Regions from separate parts of the Homo sapiens genome. Here all the other regions are linked to region 1. Evidence: promoter capture Hi-C in human tissues and cell types (Jung and others, 2019). All regions are on one chromosome and are shown on one strand. Each heading gives the region's core, a stretch centred on a gene start or on the middle of the fragment in contact. The rest is flanking DNA. Distances are from core to core; before and after follow the strand shown. Region 1 holds the start of MYO15A (myosin XVA). Region 2 overlaps TOM1L2 (target of myb1 like 2 membrane trafficking protein). Region 3 overlaps TOM1L2 (target of myb1 like 2 membrane trafficking protein).

Region 1 (3,629 bases), core at 794-3,293:
CAGGGTCTGGCTCTGTCTCCCACGCTGGAGTGCAGTGGCACGATCATGGCCCAGTGCAGCCTCGACATCTGTGCAAAAGCGATCCTCCCACCTCAGCATCACAAGTAGCTGGGACTACAGGCACACACCACCATGCCTGGCTAATTTTTCATGGAGACAAGGTTTCGCTATCTGGCCCAGGCTGTCTCAAACACCTGAGCTCAAGTGATCCTCCCACCTTGACCTCCAGAAGTGCTGGGATTACAGGCATTAGCCACTGTGCCTGGCCCTCCCCAACCTTTGAGATCAGGGATGGTCAGACAACTGCGGACATCCTGCTGCCTGAGGCCCCCACCTTATGCCATGGCATTTACCCTTCAGGACACACACGCCCAGGGATATCTTCCTTGACCTTGGCCAGTCCAGGCTGAGGTGACCCCTCTGCCCCCATTCCTCACCCAGGGCACCAGCACCAAGTACAGTCCGCAGCGGGTGGGCCTGACCCACACCATGGAGCATGAGGACGTCATCCAGATCGTGAAGAAGTAACGGCGCCTGCCGGGCCTCCCGCCCACCTGCCTCGTCTCCCTGGGGAGGTGGTCCCACTGGGACACACAAACACCCAAACAGAAAAATACAAATACACGTACCCCAGGAAGGGGTCCCTCAAGTCTCTGCTATTTACAGAAGTTTCTTCAGTAGGCAGACGAAGAGTGTGTTGGGGCAAAGGGGCTCGGTTGGAGGCATTTCCCATAAGACTGAGCCCTCTCATGGGGGTTTTGAGTTTGTAGTGCTGAGCCTGCATCTGTGCCTCCCAGCCCCCTGCACTGAGGGAGCAAGTTGCCCACATGCCCGCCAGCCAGGGCCTAAAGCAGATGGCATGCTCAGTGCCAGGCTGGTAGCTGGGCCTGTTTGGGTCCCTGGAGGCTGTGGCTGCTGTCATGGCACCTCACTCCCTCAGCTCTTGCCAGCTTCTCTGACACTTGGGTTGGGGGCCCTTCCAGGAGGAAACCCCCTTGGGTGCCCCACACAGGGCTCTCCATGATGGGAACCAGTGGTTAGTGGCTTCAAAGGCCCAGCTGACACCCTCCACAGCCTAAGGGGTGTCCTAAAGTGCCTCCCCCTGTATTCCCCCTCCCAGGGCAGCCCCTGCCCAGCACAAAACCCCAGGACCCTGGCTCTGCACGCCTGGGGCAGGGACTTTTGAGTTTAGGATCTGTATTTTCTAAGTCCCCAGTTCTCCTGGCTCTCCTTTCTGAAATAAAGGATTGAAAACGGTTCCTGTTCAGACTGAGAACACTTTGTAAACTTGCTGAACAGTAGCCAGGTTGAGTCAGGTGGGCACAGGTCAGACATTGGGCCTGGGGGTCGGAGAGGGTGCAGCCTGGGCCCCAAGGCAGACCCAGGCCTTGTGTGGCAAGGAGACTGCAGGGTTCCTCACCCAGGCACAGGCAGGCTCTGCCCAGGGGGTTGGTGTTCGGGGGTGTCAGGCCCAGACTGGCCCCTCCGGAGGGGCCTGGCTGCCAAGGTGGGCAGCATCCCAGGAGGCCCTTGTGACCATCTGGGCTGGCAGGGAGGCTCTGTGAGAACAAGGTGGCGGGTCATTTCCTGTTGCCTCAGAAGTCAGGAGTAGAGGGGCTGGCAGGGGCTCGATGAGTGCCTACCGTGTGCCAGGGACTGTGCCAGGCCCCCCACAGTGTTCTGCTGTCCCCCAGAAGCTGGTGTAGGCTGCACAGTTTGTGAGTGCAGACCCCGGATTTAAGACCTCTGAGCAGCGGGGAAGGCTTCCTGGAGGAGGTATGCCTTTTGAGATGGATGCAGCAGGTTCTGTGAGGCTGCCAGGAGGGGTAGAGTTCCCGGGGGCCTCGGGCCCCGCTGGAGTGTGGAGCAGGCCCATGCTCAGCTCTCCAGGCTGTTCGTGGCTCCCCTGTCAGCTGCTCACTCCTTTCCAGAGACAAAACAGGAATAATAGACATCATTAAATATACATAGGGCCCCAGGCGGTCGGCGTGGTGGGCTGGGCCTCCCTTCCCCATAACACTGAGCTGCTCTGCTGGGCCAACCGTGCTCCTGGGCCAGCCAGAGGACCCCCATGAGGCGGCATGCAGGCGGGGAGCAGGCCACAGAACGCAGGTAAGGAGACCTTAGCCTAGAGTCCTTGGGGTCTGTCACTGGCCACCCTCGCATCCCAGGCTGCAGGGGTGATAAGGGAAGGGGCAGCAGCAGAGCTGGGGCCTCGCCCCTAACTCATCTTGAGGCCCTTCTCTGCCTCACTTTGTTCATCTGTGAGGGGTGTGATGCCCATGCAGTCCCCTCCTGGCGATGGTGGGATACCAAGACAGGCAGGGCCTCTGTGGCTTACCTCGGCCCCTCTCCTGACTGTCCTGATGCCTGGCCATGAGGCCCTAAGTGAGGGTTTCTGCCTGGCTGGTGGCCATTCCCACTTCCACTTTACAGGTAGGGGCTCTGGGCCCAGGGTGAGGTAGGGAAGGCCTTGAGTTCACAGGGTGTCAGGGTGAGTCCAGACCTTGGATTAGATCCAGACCTGTTTTGTCCCCAAGGCTGGCTGGCAAAGGGTGGGAAATGAGGCCAGAGGCTGGGGGTCCTCAGGCAGTGAGGGCTCAGGTGAGAGGCTCCAGCCACTGGGCCACAAGTTCCTCACCGTGGATGGGCTTGTTCCTGGGCTAGATCTGTGTGCGCGTGGATCAGGGCAGGCACTGCGGCTCTGTTATGTCCTGGGCTTTCTGGATCTGTGGTCAGGATGGTTGCGCAGTCTACATTTGCTTGTGAGAGAGCGAGCAAGGGATCCTGCAGCTGCGTATGCCCAGGTCAGTGTGAAGTGGCAGCTTGCGGTGCCTTTAGGGCTGGGGAAGCTCCCTAAGACCCCCCAAAGGTCTCTGACCCTCCCATCCCCGCACCTGGGTAAGCTCCAGGCTTGGGCCTCACCCTGTCAGCCACCTTGTTCTCATCACCCTCCCTGATGATCACAGGCAGGGGTCTGCACCCTCACTCAGGCCCATGCCCAGGCAGCAGAGTTGCATTCATCTCCCAGCTGGCATCCCTGCAGCCTCCCGGGGGTAGTATGGCCTGCAGCTTTAGAAGACTCAGGTACATAGGAGCCAAAGACATGAATATTCATCTATCTGTCCCACACGTGTGCGTTCACTCATTCTCCGTCTTTCTTCCTCTCCAGCTTAGATTCCACAGTTTCTCATTTCGGAACCCTCCTTTGGCAAGAAAGCCGAGTCGAGACCCTCTCCTTCCCACTCTGTCCCTCTCCTAGACAGCTCACCTGACCTCCAGCTTCCATCTCGCCAGACCTGGGTCCGAGCAGCCTTTTTGACTCTCCACTGCACTGTCCTGTAGCCATCCCAAGCCCACCGTGTCCCAGACCAAACATGGCGTTCCCATACCCCCGGCCTCACCTCAGAGACACTCCCCGCACCCCCCAGCTGCACCAAGCCAACCCCAAGACTACTTGTCTCCACCCTCATCCCAGCCCCATCTAGCCTCTCACCAGGGCCAGCCTGTTTCACCTCATCCTGAATGTGTCCGCTGTACACCATCACAGCATGCTCCCAGCTGTGTCATTGTCCCCTCTCCATTCTTTTCCACATGGCAGCCCGAGCTTCTTTTTATAATATTTTCTA
Region 2 (3,629 bases), core at 800-3,299, 250 kb before region 1:
GGGCAGATCACCTGAGGTCAAGAGTTTGAGACCAGCCTGACCAACAGGGAGAAACCCAGTCTCTACTAAAAATACAAAATTAGTTGGGTGTGGTGGTATGCGCCTGTAGTCCCAGCTACTGGGGAGGCTGAGGCAGGAGAATCACTTGAACCTGGGAGGCAGAGGTTGCAGTGAGCCGAGATCACGCCATTGCACTCCACCCTGGGCAACAAGACTGAAACTCTGTCTAAAAAAAAAAAAAAAAAAAAAAAAAAGAACATTGAATTGAAAAGGTATCAGGGAGTCTTATCACCCAGACATGAAACCTAGGGACAGGAGGCATGTGGGTCCTCACTGGGGGGATGGACGCACAAATGACTGACAGATGTGTTAACAATGCCTAAGGCTGGCACTTCCTTGCCCTTGCCCATCAAAAGGCAGTAGGGTACACTGCTACTCTGTGCTTGCTGGCAGGCCTTCTGCCTTGAGACATTCCTGGAACAGGACACACCAGTTATCATGCTCTCAATGACTGTAAGTCAGAATGTGTGGCCTCTGGGAGGACGCATGCCATGCTGAGTCCCCAAAACTGAAGCTTAGAAAGTCAGCAGCATCTCCAGAGAGAAAATAGTCCCACACTAGCGGTTAGAGTGTGCACCAGCCCTTTCTTTACACCTGACCAGCTTTTGTCCACTTAGCAGAAACAGACTAGATGTCCTGAGCTTTCCAATGTGTTGCAAAAGCTACAACAAAGACATTAAGGGGTCAGGGGCCTTAAACCTTCAGATTTTTCTTGTAATTGTTTTGTTGCTGCTAAAGAACAAATCCCTTGAGGCCTGGGGTCATACTTTAATTTTCTTCTTTGGGGATAAATCTTGAGAGCCAACATGCTCAGAAAATAAACAATGACACTTAAGAAATTCCTCACCTCCTCAAAAATAACTTCCCAAAAGCTGGCTCATGGGAACCCTTTTCTTCCATGTCCTAGATTTTTCCAAATAAGTAGTATGTTTATGGAATGGCATCCTCCAGACCAAGCCCTAGAGGGCACGCTGAGGAGAGTGCACTGGGTGGGGTCCATCTGGGCCCTCACACTCACTGGTGGCAGGACCTGGGGTGAGTCGCTCCTCTCTGGACCCCACTTTCTTCACCGGAGAGCTCCTGAGTTTCTTCTATCCTAAGAAGCCTTAGAGATTTGGGTGGAGAGGCAGGAGCAGGGGACAGAGGCCTGAGCAATGCTTGGCCTCAATTTCCTCATCTGTGAAATAAGGCGATTGCTAGATTGTATTTGGCTTTCAATTCTTATGACTCAGAAACCTTAACTTTCAGGTTGGTGCTTCTGTTTTCTAATTCAGAAACCCAGGGATGTCAGAAATTATGGAAACTGACTCATTACAATATAGAAGCCACTTGGCCTCAGGGCGTGAACCATGGTGGAGCAGGGTGATGGTTAACAGTTAAGCTTATATAACGTAAGCTTAAATTGACTTTCTTGTGGCCAGACACAAAACCTTAGCTATCTAAACCTCTTGTCCTGGTAAATAAATGCCTTGAGTATTATAACAGGGCAAAGTTCCTTCTAATAATGTAGGTGCTATCAGACTCAGACTAAACATGTACACTGCTTGGAAAATATGAACCAAAGAAACTGTGGGAGGCCGAGGACGCGCTCCTTGTCAGGCTGATGGGAGGGAAGTGGGGCCCTGGTTGGAGCAGGGGGCACTGCGCTGAGTCTTAGGGGACTCTGTTTCTTCCCTGCAGCTTTGGGCAAGACACCAGGCCCTTAGGAGGCCTCGGTATCCTCATCTGTCAGACTAGGGGCTGGCCCAGCAGATTCCTAAGAAGGCTGTTGGCTCTGATGTGTCATAGTTTTATTTTTATTTTTATTTATTTATTTAGTTATTTATTTAATTAATTAATTTATTTAGAGACAGAGTCTTGCTCTGTTGCCCAGGCTGGTGTGCAGTGGTGCGATCTCAGCTCACTGCGACCTCTGCTTCCCAGGTTCAGATAATCCTTGTGCCTCAGCCTCCTGAGTAGCTGGGATTACAGGCGTGAGCCACCACACCTGCCTAATTTTTTTTTTTTTTGTATTTTTAGTAGAGACAGGGTTTTGCCATGTTGGCCAGGCTGATCTCAAACTCCTGGCCTCAAATGATCTGCCCAGCTTGGCCTCCCAAAGTGCTGGGATTACAGATGTGAGCCACTGCACCCAGCCTGACATGCCATAGTTTCAGCATTTTCTTGGGCAATGATCCAAGCTGAAGGCTGGTCTGAGGGATCTGAAGAAGCGTATGAGTTGGAAGAGAGGGACAGAAAGGAAGAAGACATGTGAAGAGAGAAAAGGAAGGAAGCTAGCAGAGGAATGCCCTCCAATAGAGACTGCTGCCTGAAGCTCAGCCCCTCTGAAGATAGGTAGGCCAGGCTGGCTTGGCTGAGGCAGTGGTTAGACCAGCCCTGCCCATTTTCAAAGTCCACAGACATCTTGGATGTCAGAAGCCACAGGTTTTGATCTGAGTGGCAGGTGAGCCATCCTGCTGTCAGCTGATTCTCACTTGGAACTGCAGGCAGGGGCAGCTCTGCCTCAGGGATCAGGAGGGAGGGTTGCCTGCCCAAGGGGGAGAGGCATGTCTGTCTGGTACTCCAGGGGTTAGGATTATCCTTCCAGAGTAAGAGCCTTGGGGGCCTCCAGGTCTGAGGAGGGAGTCCCGCCCTCCAAACCCAAGCCTGGGTTTTGGCAGCAGCATTCTTTACTAACCTACCTCTGTTCTTGTTTTGACTTAGATTCTCTCACATGAGGATATTTTCCTGGCTGCACCCTGCAAAAGGGAGACACCCCTAGCTGATCACCAGCCAAGAGAGGCAAAAAGACCTCACACTAGAGAGGCCAGGGAGGGAGAGCACAAGCCTAGCAGTCTCCCTGAGAGCCGCCCGGCCCTAGCCCATTGACAAGTCTCATTTCTCTTCAACCAGTAATAAGCCTGGTGGTGTCAGTTAACTTCTGTGTTGGCTATCCACACACCTGAGTCCCAGGAGCATAAGGGTTCCAACAGATGCTCCTCTGCAGCTTCCCACAGCCCCATGCCCACAAGGAAACCCACCTGTCCAGTTTTCAATGTAACAAGAACAATTTCTGTAGCTCAGGTGTACTATTTCCAGAGAAGCTGTGAATCCCTTCCTATGTCACTTCAAGCACCACCCCACTGGGACCAAGTCTAAAAGCCTTTGATCTCACTCAATAGTACAAAAAGTTTCCAAGTAAAGAATTTGTACTCAGGAGGCTTGAAAAGACTCAAGGTTTCTACACTATGGGAAATAAGGCAAAGCAATTAATATTTGTTGTAAAGAAAAAAAAAAAAACAAACTGCAGTCAGTCAGGCAAGACACCAGGTTAGCTGTTAGTTAGGTTTGTTTCTGGGAAGTTAGAGACTGGAGCTCTACGTGGGACCTGGCAGTGGCGAGGCAGTCTGTGTGGGCAGAGACAGGCACCACCACCAGCTGCCAAGGCCACCCTCAGGGGAGTTTGTGTGGGCAGTATCCTTTTTTGCAGGATTAATAGGCACAAGGGCATGTGGGCTGGATCTTCCCAATGAATGGACATGGTTTCCAGAAGCCCTGCTGCAAAGGCCCCTGACATGTGGGCCAGAGGC
Region 3 (3,629 bases), core at 802-3,301, 220 kb before region 1:
GGTGTGTGTATGGGAGACAGAGCGTCCAAGTCTGCCATGGGAAATTCAACCCCTTTCCTCTTCAGCTCCTCATATATGTGCACAACGCCGGTGAGATCAGGACTGCTTCGAAAGGCATCAGCCCATGCCTGGGATAATAGAAGGCCTGTTAGGAAGCATTTCTCAGAGCTGCCATGGTATCTGAAAATCCAAAGTGGCCCACGTCCTCTCCCCGAGACCAGTGCTCTCCTACTTGCACATGCAAATTGCACTGGCTAAACCTATTCTGTTCCTCTCCTTCCGCAACTGCTGCCACGACACAGCTGGTGAAACCCTGGCTTTCAATGGTGCTGCTGAGCGTGAACAAAAACACAAAACTTAATTTAGCATGTATTTCCTTGGAGAAGAGACAGAGAAATAACACCTATGCACGGTGGTGCATCCTAAAAAGCAGGAATTTCCCTAATGGCAAGGAAATCAATTGCTGGGGCTGTTCAGCTGCAGGGAGTGGAAGCTGGAGCCTTGTCAGCTCAGCAGGGTGCCTGCCCTCTGTGCGGGAGCACCTCTGCCCTGAAAGCTTCTACTGGTGGAGTTGGGAACCGGCAACAAATTGAGCAGAAAGGAAAGGAGAAATTGATGTGTGACATGAAGTAAAGGCTAACTACAGGTTTCCTCAGATCAGAGACAACTAATGCTGAGCTTGTCTAGCCTAGCTCTGTCTAGCGCTGCTGCCAGTAGGTGAGATGACTGTGGTTCAAGGGAAGAAGAGCCCATTGGGAGCTAGACCCAGGCCAGACTGGGGAGTTCACCCCCAGGGGTCCTTTTCCCAGACCCAAGCTTCTTTCATGATGTCCGCTGCCAAAAATGTCAGCACATGTGTGCCCAAATCGAAAAATCCCAAGAAAAGCACAATCACCAGATTCCCTTCAGTGAAAACATATCACAGAGAGGAAAGAGCAAAAATTCAAGTAGATTATCATTTCTGTTGACTCATGAAACTTAAAAATTAAAAAAAAAATTCTGGGCTGGGTGCGGTGGCTCATGCCTGTAATCCCAGCACTTTGAGAGGCCGAGGCGGACGGATCACGAGGTCAGGAGATCAAGACCATCCTGGCTAACACAGTGAAACCCCATCTCTACTAAAAATACAAAAAAATTAGCTGGGCGTGGTGGCGGGTGCCTGTAGTCCCAGCTACTCAGGAGGCTGAGGCAGGAGAATGGTGTGAATCCGGGAGGCAGAGCTTGCAGTGAGCTGAGATGGCGCCACTGCACTCCAGCATGGGCGACAGAGCAAGACTCCGTCTCAAAAAAAAAAAAAAAAAAAAAAAAATTCTGTTCTTTGGAAGTCTTGGACTGTATCAAAAACAGAATACTCAAAGGCCTTCCCAGAAATGGCCCTTCTCATGCTGTCCCATTCACCATACATACCCAAAGGAGGAGGCAGAGCCTCCTGTGCCCATGACTCCATTGCCAAGTCTGTCATTGTCACAGAATTTAACTGTCTCCCTCACTCCAGCAATGTGGTACAACCAATCCTGAGGCAGCCACAGAAACTCTGTCTCTAACCAACAGACCCATTTGAAGTTAAAAGGTCAGTTTCCAAAAAGCCTCCTTAATTATGACTGATGCATCTCACCAGGAACAGTACTGTCAGCCCGGCTTTCCCTGATGCACTTATTTAATTTGCATGCTCAGGGATTTAAAACTACTGGATCAGGACAGCCCCTCTTGGCCAACACTCCTTCTGGATTCTGAGGAGGGCCAAAGAAAGTGCCTCACAGAGCACTGTCTGGAAGGCCCAGCTGGAGGAGAGTAGGTTGCCCGTAGGGAGTGCCTCTGGCCCCGCCCCCACCAGCTGCGCTGGCTGCCTCCACCTGGTTCAAAATCCAGCTAAGTCCTGTGACGCCAACCTCAAAATGCCCTAGCATTTTAGTTTAGGGTGTTGACTTTAGGGTCTAAAAACCAGTTTCACAGCCCACTGTCGGAGGCTGGGGAAAAAACACATGGCAGTTCTTCCTGGCACCACTTCATGCCTTTGTACATGGAGTACCAACAGCTCCAGGGATTCCTTTCAATTCATCTAGCTCTCTACCCAAGCCAAATTTGAGATAATAGGAATAAAGATGAAAGAACTATGGCTCTTCTCTCCAGTTGGAGGATACTTCTTCGGGTCCACTTTCTAAGGCACTCTGCTTCCATGTTCACAGAGACAGACTGGAGTGGGAGGGAAATGCACACCCAAGTTGGGCCAATCAGATGCTCCTCCTTCCAGGAACTCAGCAGCACTAGAAGCTGGGATGTTCTCACTGGGTAGGCAGAACTGTCCTCTGTAACTCCAGGGCCATGTGCCAGCACAGGACTGGAAGCAGAGACAGCCTATGTTCTCCAGAAGGAGCAGCTAGAGTGCTCGGAGGTGCAGGCGTACAGGAGAGGATTTGGAAGGCCTTCCTGATATTTTCTGTCCCTTCCCAGGGCGGGGTGACCTGGACTTCTGGGAGACTCTGCCCTGTCATGACAAACTCTTCTCTTTGCCTAGGCAAGCTGGAGTTGGCATCTGTTATTTGCGATCAAGTAGTCTTGGCTAATCTACCCGCTTCCTACCTGCCACAATTCCAACCCTTATCTGGGACCTCTGTGCAGACTGGATGAGATGGCTGCTAACAGAGCAGATATTCATGATGGCAATCTCTATTGAATAGGATTCTCATGCCAACAGAGGAAAAAATGGGGTGCAGGGGCGCCTCTGAATAAATGCAGCTCTGGGTGTCTCTCATCTCTGGGTGTCTCCCATTCATATGTGAAAACGTACAGATGGGAGACATCCAGAGATGCCATGTGTCCCTAGCATCTTCTTGGGACATGCCTCAATAATTGGGCATGGGTCAGAGCTGTCCCCCAGGCTGGAGTACAATGGTGGTGCCATCTCAGCTCACTGCAACCTCTGCCTCCGGGCTCAAGCAATCCTCCCACTTTAGCCTCCAGAGTAGCTGGGACTATAAGCATGTGCCACCATACCTGGCTAATTTTTGTATTTTTTGTAGAAATGGGGTTTCATCATGTGGCCTAGGCTGGTCTTGAACTCCTGGACTCAAGGGATTCACCCACCTTGGCTTCCCAAAGTGCTGGGATTACAGACATGAGCCAACTGCGCCCAGCCCAGACACCTTTTGAAGGCAGACACCGAGTCTCTCACCCGTGTACAGAGAAGGCAGTCAGTCAACATTTATCAGGTTAAACTGAATTCAGTTCTCACAGTTACTAAGCATCCTTATTTTCCTACTTCAGAGAACAGAGGAAAGATGGCCACTTAGGCTGTCAACAGACTGAAGTGACAGTGACAAAGGAGGGGTGCTGGAAGGCTGACCCAGCTGAGAATACTCCCTAGAGAAGATGTGGCAAGCCTCAGGAGGTCTGGCCACTCTTGGAGTGCTTAACCTGAAGCCTGAGAGCAGCACTGAGGGTGGGGGAGGCTGCCCCCTCTTAAAGCTGCCTTTTCAGAAAGCAAAGTGATGCAGCGGTGTGAGCACACTCTGAGGGCCTGTCACAGGAGCTAGCTGGTTAATGGCCAAGTGGTCAGTTCACTGGAAGCCTTCTTTTCCTGCCTGTGGCTACAAGATTAGGGGCTTGGAAGACCCAGAGGAAGGTCTAAT

What was found. Contacts are between HindIII fragments. The study calls those that stand out against the background at their distance.
Region 2: a fragment that was not itself captured here is called in contact with the fragment with the promoter of MYO15A in region 1 in 2 of the 25 tissues and cell types used here (dorsolateral prefrontal cortex and mesendoderm cells).
Region 3: a contact is called between a fragment that was not itself captured here and the fragment with the promoter of MYO15A in region 1, in 2 of the 25 tissues and cell types used here (dorsolateral prefrontal cortex and spleen).

What each region holds. Positions count from the first base shown.
Region 1 is chr17:18,106,713-18,110,341 of GRCh38, forward strand. MYO15A (myosin XVA) reads left to right here and starts at 2,044. Exons shown (of 66, transcript NM_016239.4): 1 at 2,044-2,112. It overlaps DRG2 (developmentally regulated GTP binding protein 2), which reads left to right. Exons shown (of 13, transcript NM_001388.5): 13 at 442-1,257. The coding sequence ends at 528. It overlaps LOC105371566 (a long non-coding RNA gene), which reads right to left. Exons shown (of 3, transcript NR_164159.1): 3 at 979-1,923. RefSeq lists an enhancer at 340-987. The HindIII fragment of the contact is 16,274 bases long and covers 1-3,629 here.
Region 2 is chr17:17,852,637-17,856,265 of GRCh38, forward strand. All of the region lies in intron 12 of TOM1L2 (target of myb1 like 2 membrane trafficking protein), which reads right to left. Among named protein-coding and RNA genes, the nearest start is that of SREBF1, 17 kb to the left of the region's middle. The HindIII fragment of the contact is 7,112 bases long and covers 1-3,629 here.
Region 3 is chr17:17,884,641-17,888,269 of GRCh38, forward strand. It overlaps TOM1L2 (target of myb1 like 2 membrane trafficking protein), which reads right to left. Exons shown (of 15, transcript NM_001082968.2): 5 at 1-128. Among named protein-coding and RNA genes, the nearest start is that of SREBF1, 49 kb to the left of the region's middle. RefSeq lists enhancers at 1-180, 181-940. The HindIII fragment of the contact is 4,674 bases long and covers 1-3,629 here.